Linked DNA regions of Homo sapiens: region 1 is linked to region 2. The links are contacts of gene promoters, found by promoter capture Hi-C in human tissues and cell types (Jung and others, 2019). All regions are on one chromosome and are shown on one strand. The core of a region is centred on a gene start or on the middle of the fragment in contact, and the rest is flanking DNA. Distances in the headings are between cores, read along the strand shown.

Evidence for each region. Contacts are between HindIII fragments. The study calls those that stand out against the background at their distance.
Region 1: a contact is called between a fragment that was not itself captured here and the fragment with the promoter of PPIC in region 2, in 1 of the 25 tissues and cell types used here (lymphoblastoid cells).

The regions. Positions count from the first base shown.
Region 1 is chr5:123,626,857-123,632,961 of GRCh38, reverse strand. No RefSeq gene overlaps it. Among named protein-coding and RNA genes, the nearest start is that of CSNK1G3, 120 kb to the right of the region's middle. RefSeq lists an enhancer at 3,606-4,107. The HindIII fragment of the contact is 3,840 bases long and covers 1,962-5,801 here.
Region 2 is chr5:123,034,442-123,040,838 of GRCh38, reverse strand. It overlaps PPIC (peptidylprolyl isomerase C), which reads left to right and starts at 4,114. Exons shown (of 5, transcript NM_000943.5): 1 at 4,114-4,330. The coding sequence starts at 4,214. It overlaps PPIC-AS1 (PPIC antisense RNA 1), which reads right to left and starts at 4,917. Exons shown (of 2, transcript XR_001742868.2): 1 at 4,551-4,917. RefSeq lists silencers at 3,888-3,937, 5,246-5,418. The HindIII fragment of the contact is 11,652 bases long and covers 1-6,397 here.

The DNA.
Region 1 (6,105 bases), core at 2,632-5,131, 590 kb before region 2:
GAGTCATGCCATCTACAAATAAGGATAGTTTGACTTCCTCTCTTCCTATGTGGCTGCCCTTTATTTCATTCACTTGCCTAATTGCTCTGGCCAGGACTTCCAATACTATATTAAATAGGAATGGTAAGAGAGGGCAACCTTGTCTCGTGCCAGTTTTTAAGGGAATGCTTCCAGCTTTTGCCCATTCAGTATGATGTTGCTGTGGGTTTGTCATAGATGGCTGTTATTATTTTGAGGTCTGCTCCTTCAAAATCTAGCTTACTGAGAGTTTTTAATATAAAGGATGTTGAATTTTATTGAAAGCCTTTTCTGCATCTATTCAAATAATTCTGTGGTTTTTGTCTTTAGTTCTGTTTAATTAATGTATCGCATTTACTGGTTTGCTTATGTTGAACCAACCTTGCTCCCAGGGATAAAGCCTACTTGATCATGCTGGATAAGCTTTTTGATGTGCTGCTGGATTTGATTTTCCAGTATTTTGTTGAGGATTTTTACATCAATGTTCACCAAGGATATTGGCCTAAGTTTCCTTTTTTTTGTTGTCTCTGCCAGGTTTTGGAATCAGGATGATGCTGGCCTTATAGAACAAGTTAGGGAGGAGTCTGTCCTCCTCAATCTTTTGGAACAGTTTCAGTAGGAATCATACCAGCTCTTCTTTGTACATCTGGTAGAATTCAGCTGTGGATCATCTGATCCTGGGCTTTCTTTGGTTGGTAGGCCATTTATTACTGATTCAATTTGGAGCTCATTACTGATCTGTTCAGGGATTCAATTTCTTCCTGGTTCAGTCTTGGGAGGGCGTATGTGTCCAGGAATTTATCCATTTCTTATAGATTTTCTAGTTTGTGTGCATAGACCTATTCATAATATTCCCTGATGATTATTTGTATTTCTGTGGGGTCGGTGGTAATATCCCTTTTGTCATTTCTAATTGTGTTTATTTGGATTGTCTCTATTCTTTATTAATCTAGCTACTGATCTATATATTTTTGTTAATTTTTTCAAAAAACAGACTCCTAGATTTGTTTATCTTATGAATGTTTTTTCATGTCTCAATCTTCTTCAGTTCAACTCTGATTTTGGTTATTCCTTGTTTTCTACTAGTTTGGGATTGGTTTTCTCTTGCTTCTCTAGTTTTTTTAAGTGATGTTAGGTTGTTCATATAAGATCTTTCTAACTTTTTTGGGGGGCCTTTAATGCTATAAATTTCCTGCTTAACACTGCCTTAGCTGTGTTCCAGAGATTCTGGTATGTTGTATATTCATTCTCATTAGTTTCAAAGAACTTTTAGATTTCTGCCTTAATTTCAGTATTTACCTAAAAGTCATTCAGGAGCAGGTTATTTAATTTTCATGTAATTGTATGCTTTTGAGTAATTCTCTTAGTCTTGAACTCTAATTTTATTGTGCTGTGGTCCAAAAGAGTGTTTTTCATTATTTCAGTTATTATGCACTCGCTGTAGAGTGTTTTGTGTCTGACTGTGTGGTCAGTTTTAGAATATGTGCCATGTGGTGATGAGAAGAATGTATATTCTGCTGTTTTGGGGTGGAGAGTTCTGTAGAACTCATTTATCACATCCATTTGATCCAGTGCTGAGTTCAGGTCCTGAAGATCTTTGTTAATTTTCTGCCTCAATGATTTGTCTGTTACTTTTGGTGGGGTGTTGAAGTCTTCAATGATTTATTGTGTGGAAGGCTAGGTCTCTGTAGGTCCCTAAGAACTTGCTTTATGAATCTGGGTGCTCCTGTGTTGAGTGAATATATATTTAGGATAGTTAGCTCTTCTTGATGAATTGAACATTTTGCCATTACGTAATGCCCTTCTTTGTCTTTTTTTTATCTTTGCTGGTTTAAAGTCTCTTTTGTCAGAAACTAGGATTGCAACCCCTGCTTTTTTCTGATTTCCGTTTGCTTGGTAGATTTTCCTCCATCCCTTTATTTTGAACCTATGGCTGTCATTATGTGTGAGATGGGTCTGTTGAAGACAGCATATCATTGGGTATTGCTTTTTTTATCCAGCTTGCCTCTCTGTGTCTTTTAATTGGGGCATTTAGCCCATTTACATTCAAGGTTAGTATTGATATGTGTAGCTTTGACCCTGTCATGTATTGTTAGCTGGTTATTATGCTGGTTTGTTTGTGATTGCTTTATTGTGTCACTGGTCTGTGTACTTAAGTGTGTTTTTGTACTGGTTGATAACAGTTTTTCCTTTCCATATTTATTGCTTCCTTTAGGAGCTCTTGTAAGGCAGGTCTGGTGGTAATAAATTCCCTCAGCATTTGCTTGTCTGAAAAGAATCTTATTTCTCCTTTGCTTACAAAGTTTAGTTTGGCCGATATAAAATTCTTGGCTGGAATTTCTTTTCTTTAACAATGTTGAATATTGGCCCCCAATCTCTTTTGGGTTGTAGGGTTGCTGCTGAGAGGTCTGCTGTTAGTCTGATGGGCTTCCTTTTCTAGGTGACCTGACCTTTCTCTCTAGCTGCCTGTAACATTTTTTCTTTCATTCTGACATTGGAGAATTTGATGATTACATGTCTTGAGTATGATCTTCTTGTGACTTATCTTACTAGGCTTCTCTGCATTTCCTGAATTTGAAGTTTGGCCTCTCTAGCTAGTTTGGGGAAGTCCTCATGGCTGATTTCCTGAAATACATTTTTCAAGTTGCTTCCATTCTCCCCATTTCTTTCAGGCACACCAGTGAGTTATAGATTTGATCTCTTTACATAATCCCATATTTCTTGAAGGTAATGTTCATTTCTTTTAATTCTTTTTCTCTGTTATTGTCTGTCTTATTTCAGAGAGCCAATCTTCAAGCTCTGATATTCTTTCTTTATTTTAGTCTATTCTGCCACTAATACTTGTAATTGCATTATAAAATTCTTGTAGTGTGTTTTTCAGCTCTAACAAGTCAATTACATTCTTTTCTATACTGGCTATTTTGTCTATCAGCTCCTGTATCATTTTATTGTGATTCTTAGCTTCCTTGGATTGGGTTTCAACATGCTGCTGCATCTCAGTGATCTTTATTTGTATCCTTATTTTGAATTCTATTTCTGTCATTTCAGCCATCTCAGTTCAGTTCTGAATCTTTGCTGGAGACCTAGTGTGGTTGTTAGGAGGAAAGATAGCACTCTGGTTTTTTAAGTTGTCAGAATGCTTGAGCTGGTTCTTTCTCATCTTCCTGGGCTGATGCTCCTTCAGTCTTTAAAGTCGCTGTCCTTTTATCCTATTTGATGAACTAGAGAATTTGATTGTGGTGTAAGATGGTTTCAGTCAGCTGGTTTCATTTATGGAAGATTTAAAGGAGCCATGGCTCAGCTCACAACTCCTGGACTGCATGCTCTAACTCTGGGGAACTGTTATCAGTCCCGAGAATTTGTTCTCTGGCTTCTTGGGATTAGGAAATCACTGCACTGGCAGTGCCGCAGTGCTCCGGGACCACTGTGTCACAGCACTCTGATGGATGGTGCCACTCAAAGCTTTTTGTATGGTGGCAGCAGCAGGATCTGTTCTCATTTGCATGTGCCAGCAGCAGTGGCAGCAGCAGCAGCAGAGCAGGGTGGACTTCTTCTCCGCTGTGGCAGGGTACTGGCGGGTGCTGGGTGCTGGCCTCTGAGAAGGCATTCACAGTAGCAATGGAGGCAGCATGGCTGAGGGTACCTCTGGCAACTATGTGCACAGTGGTGCTGGTGGTGTGGTTAGCACAGGGGGCAGGGTGCTGGTGGGCATAGGACTGGGCGCACCCTCCATGAGCATTCACCCAGGTGGAGATGGCTGCTCAGGGTGGGGAAAGGCCCACTCTTCTCTGTGCCTAGTTTCACTCCCATGGCAGTGTTGTCACAGGGGTGGGGTGCTGGTGGGGGCGGGGGTGCGGCTGGCAGGCTCTGTGCCTGCCAAGGCTTTAACTGCAATGGAGACTTGGCGGGGCTGGGGTGGCCGGGAGCCGGGGGATGGAATGTACTCATGCTAGCATTTCTTCTTGATTATCCAGTTTGTTGGGGGTATAATTGTCCATAATAGCCTTATAATCCTTTATATTTCTGTGTTATCAGTTTTAATGTCTCCTTTTTCCTCTCTGATTTGAGTCTTCTTTTTTTCTTAGTCCAACTGGCAGGTTTATTAATTTCATCTTTTTTCAAAAAAAAAAACCAACACTTTGTTTTTTCATCCTTTCTATTGTTTTTCTAGTCTCTATTTTATTTATTTCTGCTCTGATGTTTATTATTTCCTTCCGTCTACTAATTTTGGGCTTAGTTTATTCTTTTTTCAAGACCTCGAAGTAAAATATTAGGTTGTTTACTTGAGATCTTCTTTTTTGATGTAGGTGTTTATTGCTATAAACTTCCATCTTAGAAGTGCTTTTGCTGCATCCCAGAAGTTTTAGTATGCTGTGTTTCCATTTTCATTCGCCTGAATACATTTTTTAATTTTACTTGTAATTTCTTCGTTGACCCATTGGTTGTTCAAGATGTTCAATTTTCATGTGTTTGTGAATTTTTCAGAGTTCTTCCTGTTATTTTTAGTTTTGTATCACTGTGGTCAGAAAAGATACTTGATATGATTTCAATCTTCTTAAATTTGTTAAGACTTGTTTTGTGACCTAACGCATGATCTAGCCTAGATAATGTTCCATGTGCACTTTAGAAGAATGTAAATTCTGCAACTCTTGAATGAAATGCTCTGTATACATCTGTTAGGTCTATTTGGTCTAAAGCAGAGTTTGAGTCCAATGTCTCAATGCTAATTTTCTGTCTGGATGATTTTTCCATTGCTGAAAGTGGGGTGTTAATGTCCTATACTGCTACTGTACATACTATTATTGTCTATTTCTCCCTTTAAATCTGTTAATACATGTGTTGTATATTTAGGTGCTCTAATGTTGGGTGCATATATATTTATAATTGTCATATCATATCCTCCTGCAGCATTAAGCCCTTTATCATTATATAATGGCCTTTTTCATCTTATTTTACAGTTTTTTACTTAAAGCCTATTTTGTCTAATACTCATGTAATACACATCTAATACTTTTGATTTCCATGTGCATGTAATATCTTTTTTCATCCCTTCTTTCAGTCTATGTGTGTCCTTACAGCTGAGGTGAGTCTCTCATTGGCAGCATATACTTAGGTCTCTTCTTTTTAAAAATCCATTTAGCCATTCTGTGTCTTCTGATTGGATAATTTAACATATTTACATTCAAGGTAATTATTGATAGATGAGGACTTAACCACTGCCCTTTCACTTATTGTTTTCTAGTTGTTCTGTAGATTCTTTGTTCCTTTCATTCTCTTTTACTGTCTTCCTTTATGATTAAGTGTTTTTCTCTAGTAGTATGTTTTCATTCCTTGTTTTTTGCGCACATCTACTATAGGTTTTCACTTTGTGGTCACAATGAGGCTTACCAAAAAAAATCTTATAATCAAAACAAGATATTTTAAGGTGATAACAAATTAACTTCAATTAAAAAAAAACTTTACTTTTACTCCACTACCCCTGACTCTGAGTTTTATCATAATTTACATCTTTCTTGTGTTCAACATCCCTTAACAAATTATCATATTTATTTTTAATAGTTTGTCTTTTAATCTTCACACTAAAGGTACAAGTGATCTTTTTTTACCATGATTACAGTATAATAATATTCCAAATATGATTGTGTCCCTGCTTTTACTAGTGAGTTTTATACTCTCAGATGTTTTCATGTTACTCATTAGCATCCTTTTCTTTCAGCTTGAAGAACTGTCTTTAGCATTTCTTGTAAGACAGGTCTGGTGATGATAAACTTCAGCTTTTTTGTGTGTGGGAAAGTGTTTCTCTTTTTCTCTTTCATTTCTTTCTTTTTTTTTTTTTTTTTTTTTTTTTGAGACAGGGTCTCATGCTGTCACCGAGGCTGGAGTGCAGTGGCATGATAATGGCTCACTGCAGTCTCCGCCTCCCAGGTTCAAGCGATTCTCCTGCCTCAGCCACCCGAGTAGCTGGGATTACAAGTGTATGCCACCACACCCGGCTAATTTTTTGTGTTTTTAGTAGAGATGGGGTTTTGCCATGTTGGCCAGTCTGGTCTCAAACTTCTGGCCTCAAGTGATCCATCCACCTTGTCC
Region 2 (6,397 bases), core at 2,865-5,364:
TGAAACTGTTCAAGGAAAACAAGAAAAGAAACAACCAATGTCAGGAATGAAAAAGAAGACATTACTACAGGTCCCGCAGACCTACAAAATCATTAAAAAATGTTTTAAACAACTTTATAAAACAATATTTTAAAATATAAATAAAATGGATATATTCCTTGAAAAATACTTCAAGTAAAGGAACAGAATAGAGAATTTGAATAATCTCCAACTATTTTAAAAGTTAAATATATAATTTAGAATGTTACAATAAAGAAAACTCCAGGCTCAGATGGCTTCTAAGAAACATTCAAGGAAGAAATGGTAATCTTACACAAACCCTTTAAGAGTAGGGGAAAAACAGCTACCATTTGCCAACTCATATTAAGAGGCCAGAACAACTCTAATACAAAAGCTGAGAGGAAACTCCAATAAAGGAAAATTTCAGGCTAGTCTCATTCAAGAATTTAGATGCAAATATCCTGAAAATAAGATTAGCAGATTTACCCACTAACACTGAAATGACATGTGGGTGACGAACTCAGTCTCAGCTGGACAGCCAGAGCCACATTTTACCCACTCTTTTCTTCCTGAACTTCAGAAGATAGTCTATATTCAGTTTTTGGCAACTTTGTTAATAAACTGATATTGCCAAACCACATCTAGTAATATATAAAAAGGATAATCCATGTTGGACACATTCCAGAATGTAAGCTTGGGTTAAGATTTGAAAATCAATGCAATTCATCACATTAACAGAGTAAGAGAATCACATAATTATTTCAATTGATTTCAATAGATGATGTTAATAAAATTTAAATCAAATATATGCTAAAAACTCTTAGCAAACAAGGACTAGAAAGGAATTTTCTGAATCTGAAAAAAGATATCCCCCAAAAGGACCTTCAGCAAATATCATGCCTAATGGTGAAACACTGAAGCTTTCCCTCTGACACTGGGACCAAGACAAGGTGTATGAGCCCCCTAGGGCTGCTGTAACAAAGTGCCACAAACTGGGTGACTTCAAACAAGAGAAATGCATTGTCTCACAGTTCTGGAAACTAGCAGCTGAGATCAAGGTGTTGGCAAGGCCATGCTGTCTTTGAAGGCTCTAGGGGCAAATCCTTCCTTGCCTCTTCCTAGCTTCTGGGGGTTGCCAGCAATCTTTGGCATCCCTTGTCTTGTAGATACAGCACTCCAATCTCTGCCTCCATCCTCATATGGTGTTCTCTGTGCGTGTGTCTGTGTCTGTTCCCTTTTTATGAGGACACAAGTCATATTAGAGTAGGGCAAACCCTACTCCAGTATGATTTCATCTTAACTTGATTACGTCTGCAAAGGCAGTCCAAATAAGGTCACATTCACAGATACCAAGGTTTAGGACTTCAATATATCTTTTTGGAGGATAATTCAGTCTACAATACAAGGACTCCCACTGTTGCCACTTCCTTTTGTACTGCAGATCCCAGCCAGTGTAAAAAGGCCAAAAAAGAAATACAAAATGTAAAGATTAGAAAAGAAGAAATAAAACTGTCATTATTCATGGATGACATAATTGTCTATGGAGAAAATCCTAAACAATTCACAGATAAATTATTAGAATATGTTTAACAAGGTTGGTATATACAAAGTTAATATATAAATTAATTTTACTACAATACATGACAATAGCATAAAAAAACACTTAGAAATCAAACTAATAAAATACGTGTAAGACCTCTGGGCAGAAAGCTATAAAATCTTATTGAGAGAAACCAAAGAAGACTTAAATATGCTATGTTCATGAATTAGAAGACTCAATATTGTAAATTTGCCAAGTCTTAAATGGTCTACAGATGCAGTGCAATCCCCATCAAAATCTCAGTGTGTGGAAACTGACAGGCTGATTCTCAAGTTATATGGACATGGAAAAGCTCAAGAACAGCCAAGAATTTGTTGAACAAAGCTAAGAGGGTATGTATTACTGAATATGAAGAGTTATTATAAAGCTATTTTAATGAAGACAATGTAGTATTGGCACAAAGACAGACAAATAGGCCAATGGGACAGATAGGGTGCCCACAAACACACCTATGCATACATGGGCACTTGCTCTGTGACAGAAGAACAGTATGGAGCGGTGAGTTAAAGGGGAGAATTTTCAATAAACTGTACTGAAATAAATGAATATTCTTATGAAAAAAATGAATTTGCTTCCTACTTTGTATTAGCCACCAAAATAGTTATATGCAAAAATATAGATGAATTTCACAAAAATTTAAGCAAAAAGAAATACATACGGTAATACCCTATTCAAATAAAATTAAAACAAAATTAAACTATAGTACAAGAAAAGTCAGGATTGCAGTTAATTTGGGCAGAAAAAAGTGTTTGTAACTGGCAGAGGGTATAAGAGGAGTTTCTAGGGAGCTGGGAAAGATTTCATTTCTTTGCCTAGAGGGTGAGATGGTGGTAGCATAAAAAGTAGTTGGACACATTCATTCATTCAACAAATAGTTATTGAGAAATCACTATATATCAGGCATTGCACTAGATCTGGGTCATCAAAGGGGAATAAATATAGGCCTGATCCCTGCCCTGGCCCTGCTTACTTCTGATAGCAGACAGACAAAAACAATTAATGAACACAGATAAATATATACAATCACCTCACAGTCACCTCGTAGGGTAAGTGCTCTGAGAGATACCCTTGTCTTGCTACACAAGGGGGACTCTTTCCTTATTGGGGGTGGGGATGAAGAGGAAAGCCATTAGGTCTTTCACTGGACTGAATCATAAAAATAGCTCAGAATTGCATTTCTCCTTTTTCTCACCCCAAAGAAGTAGTGGTTACTCCTTTTATCTCTAATGGTTCCAATGTCATTTTAGATCTACACTTAGGTACACCTAGGAATCCCATCTGACATTTAGAAATTCCATCTCTTAATCCGAGGAAAATCTTGGCTTGAAAGTAATGGCACCAGCCCCTTAAAATGGCACCTATGTGCGAATACCACTAATTTTTAGTTAATTTTAGGGCTGTTACTCTAAAACAAAAAAGTTCTTTTGAAATTCTAATTCAAAAAGCAATGAGTTTTAAAATAACCCTTTCCATGTTATAAAATACTTATATGCTCATTGTAGAACATCTGGGAAATCAGAAAACTGTAAAAAAAATTTTTTTAAACCCTCAAAAATCCATAAGTCTATCAATAGCTATCAATTCTATCTATAGCTACTGTAAACGTTGTGGTACATCTCTTTCAATATTTAAGTGCCTTGATATATTTATTTTCACGGTTGAGATCAGAATTTGTGGTTTTGCAACCCGAATTTTCCATTTAAAAATATAATAAGAACTTACTTCCCCAGTCATTAATCTTCCTAAACATAATTCTTAAGTTTGTAAAAAATCCATCCTACAGATACACCTAAAAGTCAGTTTATTTACTTTGTTTCCCCAGGAAAGAATCCTACATGACCATGGTTCTGGGCCTGTGTAAGTGCTGCCTTGTGAACAGTGTAGATAAGATCACAGAATCATCCTCCAAATAAAGTACTTAAAGCCAATGTAAAAGTTTTTCGAAGGCAAAGGGGCACTGTGAATCCAGCATTTTCCAGTGTTCCCTAGACGTGAATCATCTCAAAGAGAGGCCATTATTCGAGTGCAACAGGGCTCCACGCCTCCAGCGATGTCAAAGTTCTGCTAAGCGTCCAAAACCTAGCAAAAGGTTCCAATGGGCCATTGGAACTCGGCGGCCGCGGCGGAGGCTGCTCCCAAGGCGGCAGCAATCACACCGGGACCGGCTGCAGAGTTCCCAGTCCCGCGGAGCGCTAGCTGCCGGGCGGACGCGGAAGCCCGAGAGTCCTGGTCTTCCCGTCCAAGTTTAATCCGCGCCTACGCGGTAAATTCCTGGAGGTGCTCCCAGCCTAGCCCGCTGCGCCCGGCTCCGCGCCTGGGCAACCCGGGCTCCCTCCCGTCCCTGGCGCCCTCCGCACCCGCCTAAGGCGCGGCGGTCGAGCCCTGGCTGCGCCCTGTGGGCGCGCTCCTCCGAATCCCAAGTTCGGGTCGCGAGTCTGAACTTGGGAGGAACGCGCCCCGGGTCCCCGCCCTTCCCGGACTGCCCGATCCCCATCCCCCGCAACCGGGAGCGCGCAGGCGCAGCCGGCCGGCAGTCCCGTCAGCTGTCCCAGAGCCTGTGTCGCGCCCGTGCCGGTAGCGCCCGTGCCGGTAGCGCCGCTGCCACCGCTCACCATGGGCCCGGGTCCTCGGCTGCTGCTACCTCTCGTGCTTTGCGTGGGGCTCGGCGCACTTGTGTTTTCTTCGGGGGCCGAGGGCTTCCGCAAGCGAGGCCCCTCGGTGACGGCCAAGGTGACCGAGAGCGGCGGGCTGCAACTTCCCCTGTTGCGGGCGGGGCCCTGGGGGCGCTTTGGATACTGGGACCTCGGTGTCAGGGCGGGCGAGGTGGAGGCTTCCCGGGCGCAGGGGGACTGGAGGCGGCCGCGGGACTGGGTGGGAGGGGGCTGCTCGCGTGCTGGGAGGCCGGCGCTCCGGGGGAGACCCTGGGGGAGCTGGGCTGAGGCCAGCCTACCTCCGCCGCAGTCTGCTTGGACTTCTTGTCCCGGGTCGGTAGTCCGAGGTGACCAGCCTGGGGGTAGGAGAGGCTTCCGGAACCGGCGGGCCCGTTCTCCAGGAAAGAGACTGCCCAAGTACTTCCTTCAGCGTGGCCTGGGCTCGGGAGCAGAACGAGAGGAATGCGGGGAGGGGGGCGGGACCCGCACAGGAGAGGCGCTCGGAGCCCAGGGCTTGCAGCCGCCCGCCCGCTGCGTGGTCTCCACGCTGGCCGCGGTGGCTTCAGGCAGGCATTAAAGCGCCTGGTTCAGATGAGAGACTACCCTCCGCCTCTTTTGGGGAACCGTCGTCCTTCCCGGGAAGGGGAGGTGCGCCTTCAACTTCGGCGGGCGGGCGGCCCCTGCTGTGGGCTACGCGAGGCCGGGCGAAGGCGGCACCTGTAGACCTGGGGCAGCCTCCACTGCGGGGAAAGGGGGCGGGGGGCTGCCAGAAAGTGCGTCTTTAAGGCTTCCTCGTACTTAACTCCGCTTCAGTTCTTTTTTCAGCGTATTTAACCAAGGGTAGACGATAATGGGAGAATGCAGGGAGAGGGAGGGGATAATTTGGTGCCCATGATCACCACTTCTAGAAAACCCACTGGCAATAGTGTCTTCGAAGCTGAAGCTGGAGGGGGCGGGCTGCAGCTGAAAGTGGTCTTCATCAGTCTGGGGTTTGTCAATGGAAACGATACTAATCAACGAGTAGAATGCTTACATCCTCGACCGCAGACGCCACCTGAGGACGGGGAGGACTAGGGGGTGGGGAGGAGGAGGTCCAGCTCAGCATCTGATGTCGCAGAAAGGCCGTGCCACGTTGTGGGCGGGGCTGATAAACAGCCTGATGGTTTCGAGAAGCTCTGATCTTACTCCCAGCCTCTTGATCTTGTAGGCATGTCTAACTTTGGGAAATGGTTTGTGCAAGGCCACAGAGCTGAACGGGGTCTCTTGGGATAAAGCCATAAACATAAAATTCGCACAATTATGAAATGTTGGAGGAAATAAACTGTAATATACTTTGGGTGACATTTAAAAATAGCTGAAAAATGAGAAAAACCAGCGCAGAGAAGACTAAGGAGGCAAAGGGAACTGCATATGCATAGGTCCTCAAACAGGAAAGCCCTCCCTGCATTCAGAGGATGTGGAGAGGACGGAATGGCTTCAGCACAGAATGAGAGGTGACTTGAGATGAGGTTGGAGGGGTGAGCAGCAGCGGAATCACACAGGGCCTTAGAGGCTGCAGGTAGGCATGCGGGTATTGAGGCAATTCTTAAAATTTGAAGTGTTATTCTGCAGTCAGAGCCACTGAAGGGTTTTAAGCATAAGAATGGCATGATCTCAATATATACTCGAGAAATTTATGTGGTCACTCAGTGGAGAGTGAAATGGGAGGTCATTCAGGGCACCATGCCAGAGTCCAGATGGTGGCTTGGATTAGGGTGGTAATCATTGAAATGGGGAGCAAGGGAAGGACTTGAAATAGATTTTGGAGATATAACTAACAGGAGTTGCTGACGGTTTAGAAAGGGGGCGAGGGAGAGGGAATAGGATTGCCAAATAAAATACAGGATGCCCAGTTAGATGTGAATATCAGATTAACAATGAATAAATGTTTTTAGTGTAAGTACGTCCCCTGCAATATTTGGGAACAGGTTTCACCTGGGAAACTTCTTAAACTTACTGATGCAGTGACCCACCCCAGAGCAAGTCAATCACAATCTGTATGGGTGGGGCTCAGTATCCTATCTTTTAGAAGCTTTTGGTGATTCTGATGTGCAGGCAGTGTGGGCGGGGAACCACTGGAAGATGGAGCCAAGAGAGGAGGAAGCTG